Linked DNA regions of Homo sapiens: regions 2 and 3 are each linked to region 1. Evidence: promoter capture Hi-C in human tissues and cell types (Jung and others, 2019). All regions are on one chromosome and are shown on one strand. Each heading gives the region's core, a stretch centred on a gene start or on the middle of the fragment in contact. The rest is flanking DNA. Distances are from core to core; before and after follow the strand shown.

Region 1 (2,635 bases), core at 55-2,554:
TCTCGATACCATGTTATTCATTTACCGCTAGCCAGATCTCCCAAAAGTAGCAACGGCTGTTTCTAAAAACCTCATAGATGGTCAAACGAAAAGACGTGCAAAAAATCCTGATGGCTGCCAAGGGGATGGCAAAACCGCAGAGGCTACGTGCTCCCCACCATCGGAGTAGCTGCCCTCGGAGCTGACAGCGCAAACGCCGTTTACAACCCCGGCTCACTGCCAGGCGGCGGGTGAGCTCGGCTTCCCTCTCACTCCGCTCCGGAGGAGACGGAACACAGAAAAGAACAGGATCTTCCTTGTTCGTGAAGGTCCTCCGCTTTCTCCTAGACGACGGGATTTAGTACCGCCTGGGGCCAAACACCAGCTTGGGCAGCAAAACAAAGGCGCCTCCATTCCAGAAGAGCTGCCGGGCTGCAAGAAAACTACTCTGGGCCCTCAGTGCGCCGGTCCCCTTTGTTTCGTGTCCCGGTCGCAGAGGAGAAGGAAGAGGGAAGACTGCGCGGGAGAGACGCAGGCAGCGGGAGGTTGGGGGCCAGGGTGGGAAAGAAGAGGGGAACGACAGCCTGTGTGTGGTGTGTGTGTTGGGGTGGCGGTAGGAGTTGCAGCGACTTTGTTATTTGCTTCCAAACACAGACTCCACGAGACCGCACTGCAGCCAGTGCGGTTGTCTGGGGGACCCCGCCGACAACCCGTGCCTTTGCCCGGCTCCTGGGGCCCCACCGAGGGGCGGGAGGGCAGGGCGGTCCCGCGGTTTACTTACGCTCTTATCCAGCTCGATCTTCACCTTCTTCTGGGAGATGCTCTTCTGGATCCTCTTGCTGAAGCTGGCGTTGCCTGCCGCCCGGCCGCACCGCTCACCATCCTCCCGCAGGCAGCACAGTTGCCCGGGGCCCGGCCCGGCCGCCCCCGGGGGCCCAGCCGCTGAGACCGCCCCCGCGCCCGGCACCTCAGCCCCGGTGCCCGCGCCGGTCCCGTTCCCCGCCGAGGCGGCGGCGGCCGCGGCAGCGACCACTGCGGCCACTGCGGCGGCCGCATCCCCGCCGCGGCTCATCTCGTCAGGCGTGAAGCCGTTCATGTCTCCGAGCTCCCGAGGCCGGCGCTGACAGAAATCCCCTCTCTCCTGGCCGCTCCGCCTCTCTCCGCTCCGGCAGCGGCAATTCACTCTGCACACCAAGTTAGACAGCGGCACGGCCAAACACCAACTGTCCCGGGCCTGCTGGTCTCTGCTGGCACCGAAACAGTGGACAGTGCTGAGGGCCGGGACGCAGACTCGAGCGTCTCCTGGAGCGGGGACCCCGCTCACTGTCACATGGGGACTTCAGCAGTTGGACCGCTACGCCTCCGCCTCCCTCCGGCCCCGGGACCTGCGCAAGCGCGACGCGCCCCCTCCCGTCCCGCCCCTTTCTTTCTGCCGCGCGGCCCCATGGGAATTGTAGTTCTCTGCTGCAGAGTCAACCTGAGCTCCGCCCTGACCCCGCGCCATGAGGGACGGAGGAACTACTAATCCTAGCATGCATAGCGCGGCCACGGACCCACTTTTTTTTTTTTTTTTTTTTTTCAGTACCGGGAAAACAGGAGCGTGTGATTGGGGTTTACAGTGTTTTCTCTCGCTCTCTCTGTTTCTAGGGAATTCGGGCTGTGTTTAGCTGCTGGAATATCGTAGAATTGGTTTTCAGAGAAGTTCCTCGACTCCTGAGGCGAAACATAAAGGGATGGGAGTGGTGTGGGAAGTGATCGTGTGGGGAAAAAAAAGTTTCGAGCCCGTTTCGCATTTGTGGAGACAGAGTTTTTGGTGTGACCACTCTTTTGTGGGAAACCCAAACCAAGGAGAACTCAGGAGAATTGGCGCTCTTCGGTCCTGGAGGTTCCGCAGCTAACATCCCGGCTTGACCAACTATCGAGGCCGCAAATTAATAGGGCACCTCCTGGGAGGAAAACGCCCATCCTGACTTCTCAACTGTGACAGGTCCCCCTCACAAACGCCTTGCGGGGGGGTGGGGGGGCGTTTCTAAACACTTGCATGTTCTTACAAGGGAAATGTTTTTATTCTTGGGCGCACCAAGTTGGCCGCCTCCTGAGGTGGAGTACGGACCAGTTGACAACAGGGCTCCTTTTCACCTCCACGCCCAACCTTTTCCATTTCTCCTCAAACGGTTTTGGAGAAGGGCGGAGTCATATCATTTTAAAGGAAACTTGGAACCTCACCAATACAAACGCTGGTCGAATGTTCCCAGAAACTTCCCTGCATTAGCTCTACCGGGCGCGGGGAGCAGAAAGCGCATTTCCTGAGTCCTGAAAAGCGCGTGCGCGCCTGTGTGCTGCCGGCGTTTGGGCGCGCCTGCTTGTATGTATGTGTTCGCGGGCGCGCGCGTGTGTACGTGTGTGTGCGCGCGTACGCGTGTATGTTCCTGCGCGCTTGCGGGGACGTGCTTGTGGAGGGCGGAGAGAGGGATGGGCGTGGCTAATATGAAAGCTGCATCTTTACTAGTTAGCTACCATGCGTCATTATTTATCAAAAGATATATGCTGCTTAAACACAAATACGTTTTAAAATATATTTTAGGCAGTAGGGTTTTGGGTTTTTTTTTTGCAAGTTCTTTTGGTGAGTAAATTTAGTGATAAATGATTTTTTTTT
Region 2 (2,500 bases), core at 1-2,500, 1.2 Mb before region 1:
TTTCCCAGTAAAGAAGGTAAAGAAGATATAAAAATGATTCATTCTGCTGTTAGTGTCAGTCTTTTGCTCAACTCCCATTTCCCCCAAGTATTTAGATTTTTTTTTTCTTTAAGAAAATAAATGCCAGCTGGGCATAGTGGCTCATGCCTGTAATCTTAGCACTCTTTGGGAGTCCAAGGTGGGAGGGTCGCTTGAGCCCTGGAGATTGAGGTTGCAGCGAGCTGGGATTATGCCACTGCATTCTAGCCAAACAGACAGAGCGAGATCTTGTCTCAAGATTAAAAAAAAAAAAAAAAAAAAAAAGCCAACCACTTACGTTTACAGAATTAAAATTGCAGCCTGCCGCTGACAACCTGAGAAAAAGAGACAAAGTCAGTGGAATAGCCCTTGTTATTTATGCAAGTCCGCATACAGCTAGCCCTGGAGTTCCTGGAGAGCAAGGAACCTCTGTCCCAAACTTGACTCAGAGCTTCCAAAGTTGGTGTATTTCAACAAGTAAGCATTCCATTGAGCCAACAATTTGGTAGGCTACCAGCGGCTCTGGAGCGCCTGTTGATGATGACAGTTTTTGTGGGGGCATCTCAATATGACACACAATTGACACTGACCAGAAACACAGCGCCAAGGACACTCTAGTCCTAGCCATGAAATGTTATGATTCCAGGTTTTCAGGACAGAGCAGAGTCCACTTCTCATCTCCAGTATCCGTAAAAATTTGTCCAAAATGTAACTAAGAAAACACAATGATATTAGTTACTTCTGCTCCCCGTCACCCTCAACCCCACTGATTACGAGATGGGAACTCACACAAAACTTTGAGACAAAAGAGCAACAAGTTTGCTTTATTGTTTGCTTGTTTTGTTCCGGAGTCGGGGCCGGGAGGGAGTGCAGGAGGAGGGATCCAAGCTTCCAAGCCTCTGCTCCGCTCTCCTTCTATCCAGTTGGTCTTTAGGGCACTGAAGGAAACTCTTCTTCAGAAATAACCTTTTAACTTTTCTTCTGTCAGCTGCCTGCCAATCACGGAGCCAGAGGCTGAGGGGAGGCTTTGAGCCGGTCTGCGAGTCCGGAAGGCAAAGATCGCGAAGCTTGGCGCTCCAGAACGCTCAGGGGGCAGGTGACACAGTCGTGGGTTCCCCGGCGGGCGCTGGCTTGACAGTTTCCTCCCCGCCCACTGGCAGGGGAGCGCCCCGCCGGGCTGCACGCGCGCGCGCGCAGGGGGGCATAAAAGCCGCGGCCGCGCGGAGACGCGGAGCTCGCCCACCGCCCGCCCCAGCAGTGGCTGCACCATGCACGTGAACGGCAAAGTGGCGCTGGTGACCGGCGCGGCTCAGGGCATAGGCAGAGCCTTTGCAGAGGCGCTGCTGCTTAAGGGCGCCAAGGTAAGCCCGGCGCCCAGCCGCGGAAATTTCTCTGCCCACACACTCCGAGACTCGCCCCGCCGCCCGAGGTGCACTGGCGGAGACAGGGAGGCCGCGCCCGGCGTGCCCACTTTGCCACTTCCAAAATTTGCTGAAGCTGAGGCTGTGAGCACACCTCAGAAGTGGCTGGGAGGGAACCCAAACCTAATTGCCAAATTTCAGGTCCAGGAGGGGAGCCTCTTGTGTGTTTATTGTTTGTCCGTCTATTTCGTGAGCTGCGCAGGCCCGCGATTCCTCTCCTCTTGTCTATAGGTAGCGCTGGTGGATTGGAATCTTGAAGCAGGTGTACAGTGTAAAGCTGCCCTGGATGAGCAGTTTGAACCTCAGAAGACTCTGTTCATCCAGTGCGATGTGGCTGACCAGCAACAACTGAGAGGTAAGACAGGGGAATCAATCTGTCAACTGGGAACGTGCTCTCAACAAGCAACAACCTGAAGGCAGCCCGGCCAGGGGGCCCTGGGTGCCGCCTCCGCTGCCTCCTCGAGAGCAGCTACCTTGAAGCTCCAAAAGACAGTTTGGACTGATACGTTTCCTTCTGACAGCCCAATAGCTGTAAAACCGAAAGAAAGGCAAGACTGCTGGAGAAATCCTTTTATTGTAGTCATTTGGCAGCATTAATGTAATCAAAATTCCTTTATGTATTCAAAGACAGTGCTGCTGCAGTAATTATTAAATGATTGAAATTGCAGACAAAACTTGGAAAATTAAAGTAGGTTAAGTAAGGTACTGTTGACAAACAACTTCTCCCAGAAAGCTGGAGTCCAATGACAATCAAATGTGGCAGTGTTTTTCGTTTAAACATATCAGAATACAAGTTCAAGGAGCATCATCACAGAAGTGCTAGATGCTTTTGACCATATGTTTTCTCCGGCTTTTTCCCCAATGAGACAGTACTTTAAAATAATAATAATAGTAATCATAATAAAGTATACAATGTTAGAATTGTAGTAGAAACATCTCTATCAGCCTTTCCTCAATGCTTTCCTGTTTCCGGCTACTCACTTAAAATAGACCAATCTACTTGTGAAGTATCAGGGACAATATTGGCATACACAATAAACAGCTTTGATTATAAAGCTGTT
Region 3 (2,635 bases), core at 136-2,635, 1.1 Mb before region 1:
GAAAAATATTAGTAATCAAAGAATTAGTAGGAGACAGAAAAAACAGATGCACAAATGTTAACTGTTCAGTCAAAATGGAAGATAAGTAGTTCTCACACTCTTAAATTGATTGGAAATTATTGCTTAATTTGCAAAGACATAATCTTCAGACAGACTTCTTATAAACACATAAAGCTCTCTTACAAAGCAAAGTAAACCTGAAAGACCAGAAATTTTATATTTAAAATTACAAGACTGGAAACTTCTACAGTCAATTCTCAGTATGCATGGTGGTTATGTTCCATGAAGTCACTTACAAACACTACATTAGTGACTACTGAACCATTGCTTTTAGGGGAAATAGAGGGTTAAGTTCCTGAAAGCCTCTGGTCACAAAACTCCAATCAACCAGTCAATACATAACCTTATTTTATGTGTATTCCTGTTTAAAGAACCTTATTTATCATAGGTTGTATGAACATTGAACTCATTACTAAAGCACTTATTACTCATGCCTGATCAAAATTTATCTAACACAAATATTTTCTGTACAGGACATCAGTCTTCTTACACTAAGGAACACTACACAGCACTTCTGCAGTGGGTTTGGCAGCCATTTTAAACAGCAGAATCACCAATAAAAAAGCACAAAATTAGAAAAACATGGCACGACAGAGTATAGTCTTACTTGACCTCAGCAGGAACATGCACATCGGTGACTCAAATTTCTCACTGCCCTGTGCATGTCCACAAATAACTACAAATGCTCCACAAGTATTGATTTCCAGGGTTACAAGTAAATTTTAGCAAGCAAATTTAACAAATTTGTTTATATGTAATCCATGAATAATGAGAATTGACTAATTTTTTAATAATTGCAAATAAAATCAATAGTTTGTAAATTAAGCCAAATAATGTTAGTCTGAAAATACTTAAATTGTCTTCCAGATAGGACAGATTATTAAGAGTGTCTTTAGAATCAAAGTTCTAAACATTTTCACTAAAAGTCTTTTTAATTAAGTATTATTTGTTATACAACCACCATATTTGAAATAACACTTGGGATATCGATTCTAAGTCTCAGCTACTTAGCTTCAGGCTCCTGCAGAGTTCAGTAGATAAGAGAAGCTTACATAATTGTTTCCAGGAGTTGTCCAGTAATACTGATTTTTAAAAAAAATTAATTAGGTGAGATTTTCAGGAATTAATACAATACTTTATGTATGTGTTATTTTACTATCTATTTACCAGTCATTGTTACATAGCTGGGAGGATATCTAATTAGTATTTTTTACATCAGAAAATTGTAAGATGCTTTAATGATCAGTTTGTCCTGTGCTATATGTTTATGAAACTGCTGAAACCTACAACCTTCTAATTGGCAGTTGGCTGCTAATCTTATGAACAGTGGTGTGAGACTGAATGCCATTTGTCCAGGCTTTGTTAACACAGCCATCCTTGAATCAATTGAAAAAGAAGAAAACATGGGACAATATATAGAATATAAGGATCATATCAAGGATATGATTAAATACTATGGAATTTTGGAGTAAGTAAAACTATGTCTATTTTCTTTTAAATGATGAAGCAAAGCATTATTTAGATAAGCTATAAAAAGGGAAGAAATAAGCTTATACAGTTGAGAAATGAACACAAGCTTCAAACTTTTGGTTTGGCAAACTCTCTGGGAGAAAATATATTTTTCTGGGTTTATAAATAGAATGTAAGTTTATACATTATGAATGTTACTTTGAAATATGTAAAATGCTTCATTACTACCATCAGTCATAAAGTTGATATTTAGTCACCTTTGAAGGCAATGATACCTTCTCTGCCTAAATTCCAAGCAATATTCAAATATAGTCTGTGAAATATTGCAAGTTTCCATGACTTCAACCACTTTTATAAGAAATAGTTGATACACACACATACATGGACACATACTTTCTCAGTGAATTATGTCTGAATTCAAGCAACTGAGGATTTCATGAATCATAGTTATCATGTTGAAGGAATCAGACCTGAGATCAAATCTTGGCTCTACCACTAACCATGAACTTACCCATCATACCTCTAGATGCTTCAATTTTCTCACATATAAAATAGAGATAATACAACAGACTTAGGGACTTTGAAAAACTTAAATAAAATGATACATACAAGGTACTTAAAATGGTAACTGGTAAAAAATAAAATTTTCAGTAAATGCTAGCTGTTACCAATCATATTTCTACACTAATAACATCTATATCTGGTAAGTCTAAGATCTACTGATACGATAAAGATGAGAAAATGATCATTTGCTCAGTGAAAATAATGAGTATAAATTCCTCCTGCCAAAATGATGGAAGGTTACAGCTAAATTTATCAAATAATTTAGTTAATATCCAATTGAAAGAAATCTAATTGAATAAATTAGATAAATAAGATATCTAATCTAGATATCTAATATGGAATTAAATAAAAATTGGAAGTAGCAATAGTTTAATGACACACATTTCCCTATAACATGTTCAACTTAATAGATTCTTCAGAAAATAACTTAAAATGAAGTGGTAATATGCCTCATTCTTTCGTTTCAAAATACTGTTTTCTTTATTTTTAGCCCACCATTGATTGCCAATGGATTGATAACACTCATTGAAGATGATGCTTT

Evidence for each region. The method cuts DNA at HindIII sites, captures the fragments that hold promoters and counts their contacts. A contact is called where the count stands out against the background at its distance.
Region 2: the fragment with the promoter of HPGD here is called in contact with the fragment with the promoter of SAP30 in region 1 in 1 of the 25 tissues and cell types used here (mesenchymal stem cells).
Region 3: a contact is called between a fragment that was not itself captured here and the fragment with the promoter of SAP30 in region 1, in 1 of the 25 tissues and cell types used here (mesendoderm cells).

Annotation. Positions count from the first base shown.
Region 1 is chr4:173,369,623-173,372,257 of GRCh38, reverse strand. It overlaps SAP30 (Sin3A associated protein 30), which reads right to left and starts at 1,304. Exons shown (of 4, transcript NM_003864.4): 1 at 761-1,304. The coding sequence starts at 1,075. It overlaps SAP30-DT (SAP30 divergent transcript), which reads left to right and starts at 1,560. Exons shown (of 4, transcript NR_183973.1): 1 at 1,560-1,966. RefSeq lists enhancers at 194-493, 197-760, 1,844-2,083 and silencers at 614-993, 1,274-1,443. The HindIII fragment of the contact is 15,433 bases long and covers 1-2,635 here.
Region 2 is chr4:174,521,238-174,523,737 of GRCh38, reverse strand. HPGD (15-hydroxyprostaglandin dehydrogenase) reads left to right here and starts at 1,250. Exons shown (of 7, transcript NM_000860.6): 1 at 1,250-1,379; 2 at 1,671-1,794. The coding sequence starts at 1,287. LOC105377548 (a long non-coding RNA gene) reads right to left here and starts at 1,125. Exons shown (of 7, transcript XR_007058492.1): 1 at 609-1,125; 2 at 317-353. The HindIII fragment of the contact is 5,489 bases long and covers 1-2,500 here.
Region 3 is chr4:174,492,044-174,494,678 of GRCh38, reverse strand. HPGD (15-hydroxyprostaglandin dehydrogenase) reads left to right here. Exons shown (of 7, transcript NM_000860.6): 6 at 1,365-1,528; 7 at 2,585-2,635. Among named protein-coding and RNA genes, the nearest start is that of HPGD, 29 kb to the left of the region's middle. The HindIII fragment of the contact is 3,010 bases long and covers 1-2,635 here.